Regions from separate parts of the Homo sapiens genome. Here all the other regions are linked to region 1. Evidence: promoter capture Hi-C in 16 types of primary human blood cells and fetal thymus (Javierre and others, 2016). All regions are on one chromosome and are shown on one strand. The core of a region is centred on a gene start or on the middle of the fragment in contact, and the rest is flanking DNA. Distances in the headings are between cores, read along the strand shown. Region 1 holds the start of FAM114A1 (family with sequence similarity 114 member A1). Region 2 holds the start of WDR19 (WD repeat domain 19). Region 3 has its middle 39 kb from the start of WDR19.

What was found. The method cuts DNA at HindIII sites, captures the fragments that hold promoters and counts their contacts. A CHiCAGO score of 5 or more calls a contact.
Region 2: a contact is called between the fragment with the promoter of WDR19 here and the fragment with the promoter of FAM114A1 in region 1, in 9 of 17 cell types (neutrophils, activated CD4 T cells, M1 macrophages and 6 more). The highest score is 7.6, in neutrophils.
Region 3: a fragment that was not itself captured here is called in contact with the fragment with the promoter of FAM114A1 in region 1 in 3 of 17 cell types (megakaryocytes, M2 macrophages and naive CD8 T cells); the score reaches 6.4 in megakaryocytes.

The regions. Positions count from the first base shown.
Region 1 is chr4:38,865,672-38,870,518 of GRCh38, reverse strand. It overlaps FAM114A1 (family with sequence similarity 114 member A1), which reads right to left and starts at 2,713. Exons shown (of 15, transcript NM_138389.4): 1 at 2,685-2,713; 2 at 1,973-2,121. It overlaps MIR574 (microRNA 574), which reads right to left and starts at 2,487; the gene lies at 2,392-2,487. It also overlaps a transcript of TLR6 not described here. RefSeq lists an enhancer at 1,579-2,162 and silencers at 2,370-2,419, 2,470-2,949. The HindIII fragment of the contact is 2,847 bases long and covers 897-3,743 here.
Region 2 is chr4:39,179,672-39,184,518 of GRCh38, reverse strand. WDR19 (WD repeat domain 19) reads right to left here and starts at 1,990. Exons shown (of 37, transcript NM_025132.4): 1 at 1,956-1,990. The coding sequence starts at 1,961. RefSeq lists enhancers at 952-1,021, 1,722-1,871, 1,996-2,290, 2,142-2,321. The HindIII fragment of the contact is 13,594 bases long and covers 1-4,847 here.
Region 3 is chr4:39,141,312-39,146,158 of GRCh38, reverse strand. It overlaps a transcript of KLHL5 not described here. Among named protein-coding and RNA genes, the nearest start is that of WDR19, 39 kb to the left of the region's middle. RefSeq lists a silencer at 4,687-4,847. The HindIII fragment of the contact is 5,960 bases long and covers 1-4,847 here.

The DNA.
Region 1 (4,847 bases), core at 1,464-3,963:
TGCTCCCAGAACTATGCAAGGTATTTAAGCAGCAACATCACAGCTCCAAAAATAAGTATAAAACAGAAGACATGGTCACTATCCTTCAGAAATCAATCATCTGTTTGAGGAGCTAACACAAAACAGTTAAAAAGTGATGCAAAACAGCACAGCAAATCAAGGACAGATGTGCCTGAACTAGACTGACCCTGTGCAAGGGAGAATCTTGAAAGTGTCTTTGATGTGGTGATTCAGGCCTGGTGGGATGAGAGCATGTGCAAATGTCCAAGCATCAGCGATGGACTGTAGTGATTCAGGACAGGTGTCTGAGAGGCCAGGACATGAGGCTGCATGGAGGAATGATGAGAGGTGGGAGCGATGGTATTCTGAGGTGGAAAGAGTTGTGTCCTGCAGGCGTCAAGGGATGTGGCCTCTGGTCCCAGTATCCCTTTGTGGGCACACAACTTGATCCTCACTGTGCTTACACCTGCTCCTCTGTAAAGCTAGGATGGACAAACTGATCTGGATGCTTTTTTTTCCAAACTCCACCTGCAGGACTGGGGCAAGTCTGTGATGATAGAGAAAAATGAGGACAAGATTGCAAGTTTTTCATAAATCTAAATTTATTAAATGTAAAGGACTGCCTTCATCTTTCAAGTTTAGCCTTTGTGCTTTTTCTTGGTATTAAAATGTCTTTCATTTTATGAAATAGTGACAGTGGATGGATTTTTTTAAAAAAAATGGCCTGACTTGGCAGCATAAAAATTTGGTTAGCATGATATCCTGTGTGAGGTCATCTCCCCCAGTTAAAAAAAAAAAACAAAAACAGTGCCAGTCAGCGAAGGACCAGGAATAAAAACTCTGGATGAGAGGCTCTTAATCAGGTTGTAGCAGTTTGTATGAGTTTGTATAAAGCTTGACAAGTCTACGTACCCAGGCTCCAGCCTATTCTCTGTGAGGCTGCCAGGCATTTTTGGACCTATTTGCTCTCCTGTTCAAAAACCATTAGGTGTAAATATCTTCACACTTCCCATCATAATCCAGCTCCAATCTCTCTCCACCTCTTGCAACTCTCAGTATCCTCCACTCCTGCCTCACCAGTCTTTTCTCCATTCCCCATAACTCTTCACATCTCCCTGCCTTTGCTTACGCTGGTTCCTCTGCCCCGGTGCTGCCCTTCCTCCAGCTGCCTGGCAAACTCCTATTCCTCTAGACACCCAGTGTCTAATGTTACCTTTCATTCTGAATTTTTCCTTAATCTGCCCCACTGCTTCCAATGAAATAACTGCTACCTCTTCTATGTTTTTGGCACTTTGCACAGATTTCTATTCCATGTATTTATGGAGTATTTACTTCTGCCATTCTGTCCTCCAAGACTGTGACCAACAGCACCTAGGTTGGTTTCTGTCCCTCAGATATTTACTGAATTGAAATACATTGTGTTTGATATTAATAAAAGAGAAACCATGTTTGATGTAAGCCTGGTCAAATAAACAAAGACAAGTTTACTTTTATGGTCTGAATCGCTCAGATTCAAGAAAGCCCCCTCCAACCCTCAAATTCCTTCTGCACTGTCTCACTTGTGCCTCAAATCCATCCCTAACGTCTCATTCCTTCACTTAAAGGTTACAATGTAAGAAGTTTATCAGATTCTTTCCCAAGCTCAGGCTTGATGGAAGAAAGGAGGGCGGGGACGCAGGCCTATGGGTGGGGTAGGGAAGGAGCCACTAGGCTGCAGAGAGGGCAAAAAGAGGCTCTGAGGATAGAGCCTGTCTCATTCTCAGTTGTCACAGGTTGGCTGAGGTCACAGGGAGTTCAGAGCACACTGATTTAAGAAGCCACCTGCCTGTGTCCTTCAAGATGTTTAGGATGGGAAATGATGGGATCAGTAGGGCATAGGTAATGCTCTCACAGCCCATAGAGAGATGTCTTCCTACTTAAGAAAAGGCAGTGACGTTCAGGCGCCTGGTCTGAGGTGCCTGGAAATACTCACCGGATGGCAGAGGCGAGGGCTAGCCGACTGGGTGGAGGGGGCCTGGGGATCTGCGGTAGGGAGTGGGACCCATCCCGGGGGCTGCGAGTGGAGGCGGTGCCTGCTTAGAGTGTTGGCTGGACTGGAAGAGCAGGCAGGGCGTGGGTCGGCTGTTGGGGGAGGAGTAAGGCGAGGGGAGCGGGGAGGTCAAGGCCTGAGCTCCCTGTGCCAAGGCCGAGGGCAGGCGCACCCTGGGACGAGGCCTCTGTCTTACAGGGACCTGCTCCCTTCGTGCCCGGGCTGGGGGACCCTGCAGCCCACCTCTGACTTGGCCCCGAGCCATTGGGGGCACTTTTCCAGACTTGCTTGGTGCCAGGACTGGATACTTTGGGAGATCCAGGCAGGCTCCGCGGAGGTTCACGCAGGCCGAGGGGGCAGACCCTGAGTGTGGGCGTGTGGGTGTGTGCATGAGCGTGGACCCGGAGCGACACACACTCACACACACACACTCACACGCCCGCACCCACGCAGGTCCCTCGGCCGCGCCGCCCCAGACCCTCACCCCAGAGCCGGGTCCTCCCTGACCACTGCTTCTCACTAACGCAGAGGGCAGGATTCGTGGGTCCCGGACGAGGCGCCAAGGTATGGTGTTCCCACCACCCCCGGGCAGCCGCCCCCGCGCTCGCCCGCCCCCCGGGGAAGGGGATGGGGACCGAGTGCCCGGGGCTCTTACCGCTCAGGCGGCCGAGTACGCGCGGGAGTGCCCAGCGGGTCCCGCCCCGCCACGTCTGCAGGGCCGGCGGGGACGCGGCCGGAGGGCGGGCGGCTGGAGAGGGGGCCCCGCCCCGCCTGCGCCCCGCCCCACGAGGAGCGCCGCGGGGACGCCCGGCCACCCCCACGCTGCGAGGGCCGGGCCCGCGCTGGGCGAGTCTCCTGGAAACTTGGCTTGTCCCACCCCTGTGCCAGCGCGGAAAGCCAGAGCGCGCCGCCTCTCCAGCCCAGGGCGGGTGGGTCTCGGGGTTCGCCAGATCCCTTTCCTTTCCTTAAAAGGGCTTGGAAAACCCCCCGCCGTGTCACTGGGAAGAGGTCGCTCAAATTCAGCTAAAGTTTGATCTCCTGATTCTGCGTTAAGCAGCACTCCCTTGCCCTGTCGGTGGGAGTGTGATAGATTTAAAACAAACAAACCCCAAACAAACAACGAAAACCCACTTTCCAGAAGGCCAGTTTGGAGCTGTGGGTTAAAACTCCGATGTATTAGCTTTGGCCTAGGAATTCCACATTTGTGAATTTGTCCTAAGTAGGCAGTCAAATGGGCAAATATGTATGTACAAGGATGTTTGTTGTAGTTGTTTCTGCGGGGGGAAGCCGGAGACAATCTCAATGTCCCCCAGTAAGATTGGTGAAGTAAGCTACAGTAACTTCAGACATCGAATATGTTGTAGCCCTTAAAAATGAGGATTCGTTGACATGGAGGGAAGGCCACATATGAAGGCCTTCCTCAAATATGGCTTAATATGAACTCAGATGCGGAGGAAGCGCAGTGTTTATAGTATTAACTAGTTTTGTAAACAATTTTGTATTTTCTATAAAAGTCGGAGGAAATACAATTTAAAAATAGTGATTCTTTCTGAGCGATGTGTTTAAGGCAGATTTTCTCCTCTCTCACTCCATCCCTTCTTCTTTTTGAAGAATTATAAATTCAAAGTTAAAGAAAAAATAGCCCTAGTCTCTCCCTTTCAATATCACTACCATTTTTTATAGTGTGTGGATCCTACCATAGTTTTTCTAAGCTTATATAAATACATGTATGCATAAACAGCTTTTTGTTTGCTTTTTTATAAAAATGGCGAGATGTTGACGTATTTTGTAAATTTCCCCCTATTTATTATATATTATAATCATCTTTCTTGGTCAATACATATCAACCAAAACCACTCTTCTAAGACTTGTCTTATATATTGCAATATGTTTGTAATTATATTTCATTCAATCATTCTCCTATTGACAATTAGTTTGCTCCTTATATTCCAGTTTCTTCCATATATATATTAATTAATTTATTAATTCATTTTTTTGAGATGGAGTCTTGCTCTGTCGTCCAGGCTGGAAAGCAGTGGCGTGATCTCAGCTCACTGCAGCCTCTGCTTACTGGGTTCAAGCAATTCTCCTGCCTCAGCCTCTTGAGTAGCTGGGATTACAGGTGCGTGCCACCACACCCGGCTAATTTTTGTATTTTTTAGTAGAGACGGGGTTTCACCATGTTGGCCAGGCTGGTCTCGAACTCCTGACCTCAGGTGATCCACCCACCTCGGCCTCCCAAAGTGCTGGGATTACAGGCATGAGCCACCGTGCCTGGCTATATTTCTTATTTAATATTTTTATTAAATATTTTTATATTAATAATTTTTTAAGCTACTGAATATTTATTTTATTTTATTTTTTAGGAGGACAGAGTCTTGATCTGTGGCCTAGGCTGCAGTGCAGTGGCACCATCTCCATCTCCTGGGTTCAAGCGATTCTTCTGCCTCAGCCTCTTGAGTAGCTGGGATTACAGGTGCGTGCCACCACACCCGGCTAATTTTTGTGTTTTCAGTAGAGACAGGGTTTTGCCATGGTGGCAAGGCTGGTCTCGAACTCCTGACCTCAAGTGATCTGCCCACCTCGGCCTCCCAAAGTGTTGGGATTACAGGCGTGAGCCACCACACCCAGCCTGTCATTTTTAAATTCATAGAAAAACCAGAAAGTTATCTTAATGTGAGAGTGGGTGGAAACTGCTTTAAATTGAGATCAATAGCCTTTTTGAATTGAGCGAGACTTTGAACCTTAACTAACACGTGGCTTCTGTAACTCAGTTTTTCCACCTCTAAAATAAAGAGCATTGCTCGGCACAGTCCCT
Region 2 (4,847 bases), core at 741-3,240, 310 kb before region 1:
CTCCAGCCTGGGTGACAGAGCAAGACTTCGTCTCAAAATAAATAAATTAACAACCAACAACCAAACACAAAGCAGTGAGGTTGTTTATTTTTATTTTTATTTTTTTTTAGACAGCGTCTTGCTCTGTCGCCCAGGCTCTGGAGTGCAGTGGGGCGATCTTGGCTCACTGCAACCTCCGCCTCCTGGGTTCAAGCGATTCTCCTGCCTCAGCCTCCCGAATAGCTGGGATTACAGGCACACGCTACCACGCCCGGCTAATTTTAAAAATATTTTTGGTAGAGACAGGGTTTCACCATGTTGGCCAGGCTGGTGTCGAACTCCTGACCTCAAGTGATCCACCTGCCTCGGCGTCCCAAAGTGCTGGGATTACAGGCGTGAGCCACCGCACCCTGTCCCAATGAGCATTTTACATGCTAAAGAAGAAATTCCCCTCTATTGAAAGTAGAGGTGGGCTATGATCATGGGACATAAAAGTTTTATAGAGCATAAAGAAACTCATGAAGAAAGAATATTTAAAAGCATCTTACTTTTGCAATTTTGTGACCATTTCACCCTGGAACTCCTTCATGCAAGTGAGAAGTCCTTAAACTTGAATTTCATTACCTTCAATGGCTGACTTGCCTCTAGCTGTGATTTCATATTATTTTTTTTCAGTGGAGCTCTATAGATGCTCCACATACCGTGCAGAGGAAAAACTGCTAGTTTCACAACCAAAAAACCAAGACTTAAATTTTGTTTGTAGCTTATTAGCTGTAGGGCTTTAAGTAAGTCGTTTAAATTGCCTCCAGCAAAAAATTCTCAACTGTAAATCATGAATAATAACTCTTCACTTCTAATATTTCATAAATTGTAAAGAGCTTTAGAAATAAAAATGGGAGTTATGATTACTGGTCCGTCAATTCCAATTTCCACACTAATAGCCACGAAGAAGCATGAGGACATCTAAAATAATTTTAAAATTGAGCCTTCCAGCCGGGCGCGGTGGCTCACGCCTGTAATCTCAGCACTTTGGGAGCCCGAGGTCGGGGGATCATGAGGTCAGGAGAGTGACAGCATCCTGGCTAACACGGTGAAACCCCATCTCTACTAAAAATACAAAAAATTAGCTGGGTGTGGTGGCACGCGCCTGTAGTCCCAGCTACTCGGGGGGCTGAGGCAGGAGAATCGCTTGAACCCAGGAGGTGGAGGTTGCAGGGAGCAGAGATTGCGCCACTGCACTCCAGCCTGGGTAACAGAGCGAGACTCAGTAAAAAAAAAAAAAAAAAAAAGCCTTCCATTTCTTTGCCAGAGCAGAGCAAGGGGGGACTGCTCTGATAAATCAGAAAGTGGGGTGAACAAGAAGCCCAAGCCTAGAAACCGTGCGTGCAGAGGATGAGGCACATGAGCGTGAGACCTGAGTTTTCGGGTGCAGATTTCCCGTCAATAATGTACACTCGCTAGCAGGTGATTGGACTGGTCACAGGTAATACATTTTGAAGTTATTCTTTAGGAGGCTTTTCATTCTTTTTAAGGCGCTGGGCAGCTGCGCGGCTTGCCAGAGGCTTAGCCCCAAGAAATGAGGTAGCTCGTGACATCGGACCCAGTCAACTTCACAGCGACCCTCCAAACGCGTTAACTCGACCAGTTCTTTCCGCGTGCGAAGCTGGGGTATCTTTAGATCCAGTCCGCTCATTTCGGCCAGGGAGGGGTTCCCACTTTCTGCACCGCTTCTACGGCGTCTGCAGTCCCCAAAACGAGAGGCCTCTCTCTCCGCCCTCTCCTCTCCTCCTATTTTCTTTCCTTTCTCTCGTCCCTTCAGCTTCGCCCCCGCTCTCTCTGGCCACCTCTCTCTCTCTCTCTCTTCCTCATTTCCAACGAACTCAGAAGGGAGAGGGACAGATATCCTCTTTTAAAAGCGACCAAGGGCCAGTAGTCGCGTTTTCCCGCCCCACCCCGGGAATTTGTAAGTTATTTACCTTCATCTCCACGCTCGAGCCGCTACGCGAACTATGAAGTACGCAGGCGCACCCGGTCTCCACCAAGCAGGCTACCGCGTTCCCGTCACCCAGGAGACCGCGCGAGCAGCGACCAATCAGCGAGTGCTAATTGAAAGGCGGTGCCTCGAGGGGCCGGGCCAAGCGCACCGCCCTCTGCGAGGGTGGGTGAGAGGCGGAGGGTGGAATCACATGACATCAGAGACGCTAACCCTGGGAAGTTGGGCGTCGCGAGGCCTTGCTGAGCCTCGGCTTCCTGGCTGGCTCTGATTGGATGAGATTCGTCCGGGAGAGACGGGCTCTGTGAGCCCTCAAAGGCGCGTGCGTAAATTTTGGACCGCGATGACTAAGATGTCAGTGCTGGCCAAAGGGGGCGCCGAGAAGCTGAAGGAAAGAAGACGCAGAATGTTAGATTAAAGGAGGCAGGATGGGCTAAATACTCCTATACAGTCCACGCAAAGAGGGGTTGGACGAGCTCGGGTATATCTTTTTTTCTTCCAGGTTTCTGGGGTAGAAGGGAGGAGGCATAAGAGGTACAATAGTTTATTTCAAGGTAGGGTTGTTGGTGCTTTTTTTTTTTCAGTTTCACCAAAATCTTTTTTTTTTTTCAATGTCAACAAAATGTGCTAGCTAACGTGGGCAGGAAAAATGAGCTCCAATAGTTTTCCTTTAGAGTTTGGATCTGGCAGCTTTTCCCCAAGTATAAAGCCCTGTTGTACAGTATTTGTGCTGCATTATTTATAGCATGAAAGTGCATCTTTTACCCAAGCGTCTGAAAGTGTTGAAACAGTCTACCTTTTGCTTTTCTTTTCGACATCAGGTAGGAATCTGATTGGCTTAGAGAAAGTTAATCAATGATTTGAAATAACTAATAATGAATGTTTGCAAATTCTTAAGTAGGGTGCTATGCCTTTGCACTGGGGTTTTCAGTTACGTTACGACAGGGGTCCGGATCCAGACCCCAAGAGAGGGTTCTTGGATCGCGCGCAAGAAAGAATTCAGGGCGAGTTCTCAGTGCTGAGAAAAGCAAGTTTATTAAAACACGTAAAGTGGTGAAAGGACAGCTACTCCATAGACAGAGTAGGACATTCCTGAAAGCAAGAGAAGGGACGCATCCACCCTAGGTACAATGCTTGTATATATGGGGAGATGTGCTCTGCTACAAGGGTTTGTGATCAAAGATTAATTTTCTTAATTATTTTGCAGGAATTGATATTATTATCTTTAAAGCAAAATTAGGAATGCCTTTGTTCTCCAGATATCCCGATATCTGGGTCTGTTTTAGTAAACATTATTAATTTATTCCCTTAATCGTAAACATCTAGAGGCGAGGAATGCCCAAATTCTGAGAATTCAGCCCAGCAAGTCTCAGCCTCATTTTCCTAGCCCTCACTCAAAATGGAATCGCTCTGGTTCAAACGCCTCTGACAGTTAGGTTAATTACTTAAATTTTTACTGAAAGATTCCTCTGCTGAAAGGGTAACCATTTAAAAATAGCCAGAGCAATCAGTTCTTAACAAGACCTGCCCTCAGGAGAAAGTATTTTTACCAAAGCCTAGTCTGCTGGGGTTTTATCAGAGCCTAAACTACCTGGGAGAAGGGAAATACTCAACTTCAGCCTCCATAAACCATCCTGTTCCACTTAAGTGTGGGAGATTAAGAAGTATTGGCGGGCGCCTGTAGTCCCAGCTACGCGGGAGGCTGAGGCCGGAGAACGGCGTGAACCCGGGAGGCGGAGCTTGCAGTGAGCGGAGATCGCGCCACTGCACTCCAGCCTGGGCGATAGAGCGAGACTCCGTCAAAAAAAACAGCAAAAAGAAGTATTGGTGGCCAGGCTCAGTGGCTCACGCCTGTAATCTCAGCACTTGGGGAGTTCGAGGTGGGGGGCTCACTTGAGGTCAGGAGTTCAGGACCAGCCTGGCCAACATGGTGAAACCCCGTCTTTACTAAAATACAAAAAATTAGCTGTGCATGGTGGTGGGCACCTGTAGTCCCAGCTGCTCGGGAGGCTGAGGCAGGGGAATCGCTTGAACCCGGGAGGGGGAGGTTGCAGTGAGCCTAGATCGTGCCACTGCACTCCAGCCTGGCGACAGAGCAAGGCAAGACTCTGCTCAAAAAAAAAAAAAAAAAAAAAAAATTAGCCTGGCGTGGTGGCACATGCCTGTAATCCCAGCTACTCGGGAGGCCGAGGCATGAGACTCGCTTGAACCTGGGAGGCAGAGGTTGCAATGAGCCGAGATTGTGCCACTGCACTCCAGCCTGGTGACGGAGCTAGACTTCGTCTCAAAAAAAAAAGGAAGTACTGGTGACTTTTACCATCCACACCGGCTCACTAAAGGCTGAGGCCTAATCATAGGACTATAGAACACTTGCCCTATCCTGTACCTTACCACATACCACTAAAAGACTACTTACAAGTATTCCTTTTATCCAGTATATCCTGTCTGGTGTCTTAGTTGTTTTCTGTTGTTTATGACAGAATACATAAAACCGGGTAATTTATAAAGAAAAGGAACTCATTTGTCATAGTTAGGGAGACTGAGAAGTCCAAGGTCAAGGGAGTGCATCTGGTGAGATCCTTCTTGCTGGTGCGGACTCTCTGAAGAGTCCTGAGGCAGCACAGGATATCACATGGCAAGGAGGCTGAGTGTGCTAACGTTCTAGCTAAGGTCTCCTTATAAAGCCACCAATTTCACTCCCATGATAACCCACTAATTCATTAACCCATTAATCCCTGAATCTTTGAATGAATTAATCCATTCATGAAAGCAGGGCACACAGGAACCATTTGCCTCTTAAAGGCCCCAACTTTCAATATTGCCACATTGGTGATTAAGTTTCAACATGAGCTTTGGAGGGGACATTCAAACCATA
Region 3 (4,847 bases), core at 885-3,384, 280 kb before region 1:
TAGATTTCTAGAAATAGAAACCATATTGGTGGTTGCTGGGGCTGAGAGGAAGGAAGAATGGGGAGTAAGTGCTAAATGGGTATGGGTATTTCTTTTGGGATGATGAAAACCTTTTGGAACTAGATGTATTGCTTGCACAACAGTATGAATGTACTGGATGCTACTGAATTGTTCACTTTAAAATGGTTAATTTTATGAGATGTGAATTTTGCCTTAATTAAAAAAAAACCTATCTACAAACATTAAATCTTTACTTTTAATTTTTCTTGATTAAAGAAAACTAGCTTTTCGGCTGGGTGCGGTGGCTCACACCTGTAATCCCAGAACTTTGGGAGGCCAAGGCAGGTGGATCACGAGGTCAGGAGTTCGAGACCAGCCTGGCCAACACGGTGAAACCCTGTCTCTTCCAAAAATACAAAAAAATTAGTGGTGCGTGGTGGCAGGCGCCTGTAATCCCAGCTACTCGGGAGGCTGAGGCAGAGTATCACTTGAACCCGGGAGGCAGAGGTTGCAGTGAGCCAAGATTGCACCACTGTACTCTAGCCTGGGTGACAGAGTAAGACTCTGTCTCAAACAAAAACAAAAACAAAAACAAAGCAAAACAAACAAACAAAAAACCTCAAAAAACTAGCTTTTCTGGAAATCAGATTAAAACTTGTCATAAAACACCTGTTGAATTAACTTAATTCTGTGATCCAGGCTTTTTGTTTGTCTCATAACCAGCCTTAGATAGAAGCTGTGACTTGCCCACATTCTGAATACATCTAAGAAGATACTGTATCTGGAAATTTTAATTTTTTTTTAAGTCTGTGTTTAGGTCTTCACTGGGGAGCACTCAGGGACCAAGGGATATCCCTTGTCTCAATAATTCATGCTGGTGATTTCAAAACTTCTGGCCATGTCTTCTGAGGCTAAAAATATTGAAGATACTGCCTTCCCCAAAAGGACAGAGGAGAAGCATGCCAAAAGGAGGAAAGGAAGTTACCATATCAAAAAGATACCTGCACACATATGTGTGTTGCAGCACAATTCACAATTGCAGATATGGAGTCAACCAAGGTGCCCATCAGCTTGTGGATAAAGGAAAGTGTGATGTATATAGGCCAAGCACAGTGGCTCATGCCTGTAGTCCAGCACTTTGGGAGGCTGAGGCAGAAGGATCCCTTGAAGCCAGGAGTTTGAGACCAGCCTGGACAACAAAGTGAGACCCTGTCTCTATTTTTTTTAAGTGGTGTATATATACCATGGAATACTACTAAGCCATAAAAAGAACCAAATAATGTATTTTCAGCTATTTGGATGGAACTGGAGGCCATTATCCTAAGTGAAGTAACACAGGGACAAAAAACCAAATACCGCATGTTTTCACAAGTGGGAACTAAGCTATGGGTAAGCAAAGGTATACAGAGTGCTATAATGGACACTGGAGACTCAGAAATGGGGAGGATGGGCCGGGCGCGGTGGCTCACACCTGTAATCCTAACACTTCGGGAGGCTGAGGCAGGTGTCTCACTTGAGATCAGGGGTTCAAAACCAGCCTGGCCAACATGGTGAAATCCTGTCTCTACTAAAAGTACAAAAAAATTAGCTGGGCATGGTGGCGCGTGCCTGTAATCTCGGCTACTCGGGAGGTTGAGGCAGGAGAATCGCTTGAACCTGGGAGATGGAGGTTGCAGTGAGCCAGGATCATGCCACAGCACTCCAGCCTGGGTGACAGAGCGAGACTCTGTCTCAAAAATAAATAAATAAATAAGAAAGGGGGAGGAGGGTGGAAGGGGGATGAGGGGTGAAAAACTACCTATTGGGTACAATGTACACTATTGGGGCGACTGGTGCACTAAAAGCCCAGAATTCACCACTCATCATCCATGGAACCCATAACCATTCCTACCCCTAAAGCTAATGAAATAAAAAAAGTTTTTTAAAAATTAAGAGAATAAGAAAAATCAGCATAAGAGATGTGAAAATGTTACAAGTAGCTAGAGACTTCAGGTTTTGAAAACATACCAGAAATCTAGATTTTTCTTCACAAAAAGATATAAGGATACTCTAGTGGTATTTAAAAATGCCAAACAAGGCCGGACACGGTGGCTCACGCCTGTAATCCCAGCACTTTGGGAGGCCGAGGCGGGCAGATCACGAGGTCAGGAGATCGAGACCATCCTGGTTAAAATGGTGAAACCCCGTCTCTACTAAAAATACAAAAAATTAGCCGGGCATGGTGGTGGGTGCCTGTAGTCCCAGCTACTTGGGTGGCTGAGGCAGGAGAATGGCGTGAACCTGGGAGGCAGAGCTTGCAGTGAGCTGAGATCGCACCACTGCACTCCAGCATGGGCGACACAGCGAGACTCCATCTCTAAACAAACAAACAAACAAACAAAAAAACCACACACACACACAAAAACTAAGGCCAAACAATGGATATAATATTTGGAACCTAGAAAAAGTTGTTATTGTTTGAGAAATAATCTTCTGGAGGAGTGAAAATGGTGGGCAAGTAATATAACTGATTTACTGAAACATTCTGTGATAAACACTCAGGATCTGACAGGTTGAGGAATGATCAAGGGCCCTGAAACCTGTCCTTAGATTTCTTCTATGTGATACCCATACCCTTAGAAGGTTGGCAAGTATAACACAGAGCTAAGGCCTTAACACACTTTGGTTCCATCAGGTCTTTGAAACTCTGTGGCTAGCACTGAATGCAGAACACATTTTTATCTTCCTGGTTAATATATTAAAAATACGCTGTTCATAGGAAATACTGCCATATTGCTATGGCAATACATAGGGAGTGGCCACCATACATGCCAAACAGCTAGCAATTCCCTCCCCTGCTCCCCTGCTCGTCTTTGTATCTTCAAACAAGTCACCTTAAATATAAAGATTTAATGTGTGTACGTGGGCTTTTTTTCTTTTCTTATGAAATAATGATAGATTTATAGGAGGTTGCAAAGAAATGTCCAGGAAATTCTCATGTACCTTTTTCTCAGCCTCCTAAATATTAGCATCATACACAACTGTAAAATAATATCAAAACCAAGAAATTGACACTGGTCCAATCCATACAGTTTAATCAGATTTCACCAGTTACATATGCACTTGTGTGTGTGTGTGTGTGTAACTTTATACACTTTTACCACATCCATAGCCTTGCATAACCACCACCACAATCAAGAGACTATACTACCATCACCACAAGACTCCCTAGAGCTATCCCTCTACAGCCACATTCATCCTCTCTCCATATCTCTAACCTCTGACAATCCCTAATCTGTTCTTCATCTCTGTAATTATGTTATTTTTTTGGATGTTACATAAATAGAACTATGTCGTATGCACCATTTTTGAGACTGGCTTTTTTTTTTTTTTCACTCAGCATAATTTCCTTGAGGTTCTTCCAAGTTGTTGCCTGTGTGAAAGGTTTGTTCCATTTTATGGCTGGATCGTATTCCATGGTATGGATGTCCCATAGGTTCTTTAACCATTCACCATTACAGGACATTTGGGTAGTTCCTAGTGTTGGGCTGTTATGAATGAAGGTGCTGGGAGTCAGTCTTCATTTTCTCTGGTACACCATGAGTGACACCACGAGTGCCCTTGCTGGATCATAGGATGAGTCCATGCTTAGTTTCAAAAGGAACAGCTGGGTGCTTCTCCAGAGTGGATGCAGTCTTTTAAGAGAGAAAATACTCTTTCAGAAGTACTGACTTTACCGAAGAAGTCTCCCACATTTCTCTAAATAAATCTTTTTTTTTTTTTTTGAGACAGAGTTTTGCTCTTGTCGCTCAGCTGGAGTGCAATGGCGCGATCTCAGCTCACTGCAACCTCCGCTTCCCAGGTTCAAGCAATTCTCTTGCCTCAGCCTCCGGAGTAGCTAGGATTACAGGCGCCCGCCACCACGCCCAGCTAATTTTTGTATAAATAAATCAATTTTTAAAAGAAAAGGGAAATACAATTATTTTCTTAAAATGTTGAGTTTGAATATACTGTATTTTAAATTTTATTTGGAACTCAGACATTTTATTTTTCTAATATCTCTGTCATGATTCAGATGTTGTCAAAAAGCAGTTGATCCTGTGTAGTTTGTGATTTCACGGCATGCTAAACATAACAGAATGGTGGAGGTGGTCGTGAGTGATAATGGCTCAGAGATAAAAATAATTGTTTATAGGGTACTTTGGTTAAAAGAATCATGAAAACAATATTTTCAAAGATTTAGAAGACAACATAATTGTCTCTTTTTGCCCACTGAATTCTAAATGATTTGCTCATGTTCTCTCATGATTCAGTAGCACAACACCTTCACATAGTCGAATTGTGGCTGCTGCTAGCCTCAACACCCTCTTTTTCTTTTTTCTTTCTTTTTCTTTTCTTTTTTTAAATAGATACAGTGTCTTGCTATGTTGCCCAGGCTGGTCTCGAACTCCTGGGCTCAAGTGTTCCTCCTGCCTCAGCCTCTCAAATTGCTGGGCACAATTTGCTGGGCACAATTATAAGTGTGAGCCACCACACCCACCTTCAACCCTGTCTCAAGACTAAAAAATAGGCCGGGCTCGGTGGCTCATGCCTGTAATCCCAGCACTTTGGGAGGCCGAGGTGGGCGGATCACGAGGTCAGGAGATCGAGACCATCCTGGCTAACACGGTGAAATTCCGTCTCTACTAAAAATACAAAAAATTATTAGCCTGGCGTGGTGGCGGGCGCCTGTAGTCCCAGCTACTCGAGAGGCTGAGGCAGGAGAATGGCGTGAACCCGGCAGGTGGAGCTTGCAGTGAGCCGAGATTGCGCCACTGCACTCCAGCCTGGGCAACAAAGCGAGACTCCATCTCAAAAAAAAAAAAAAA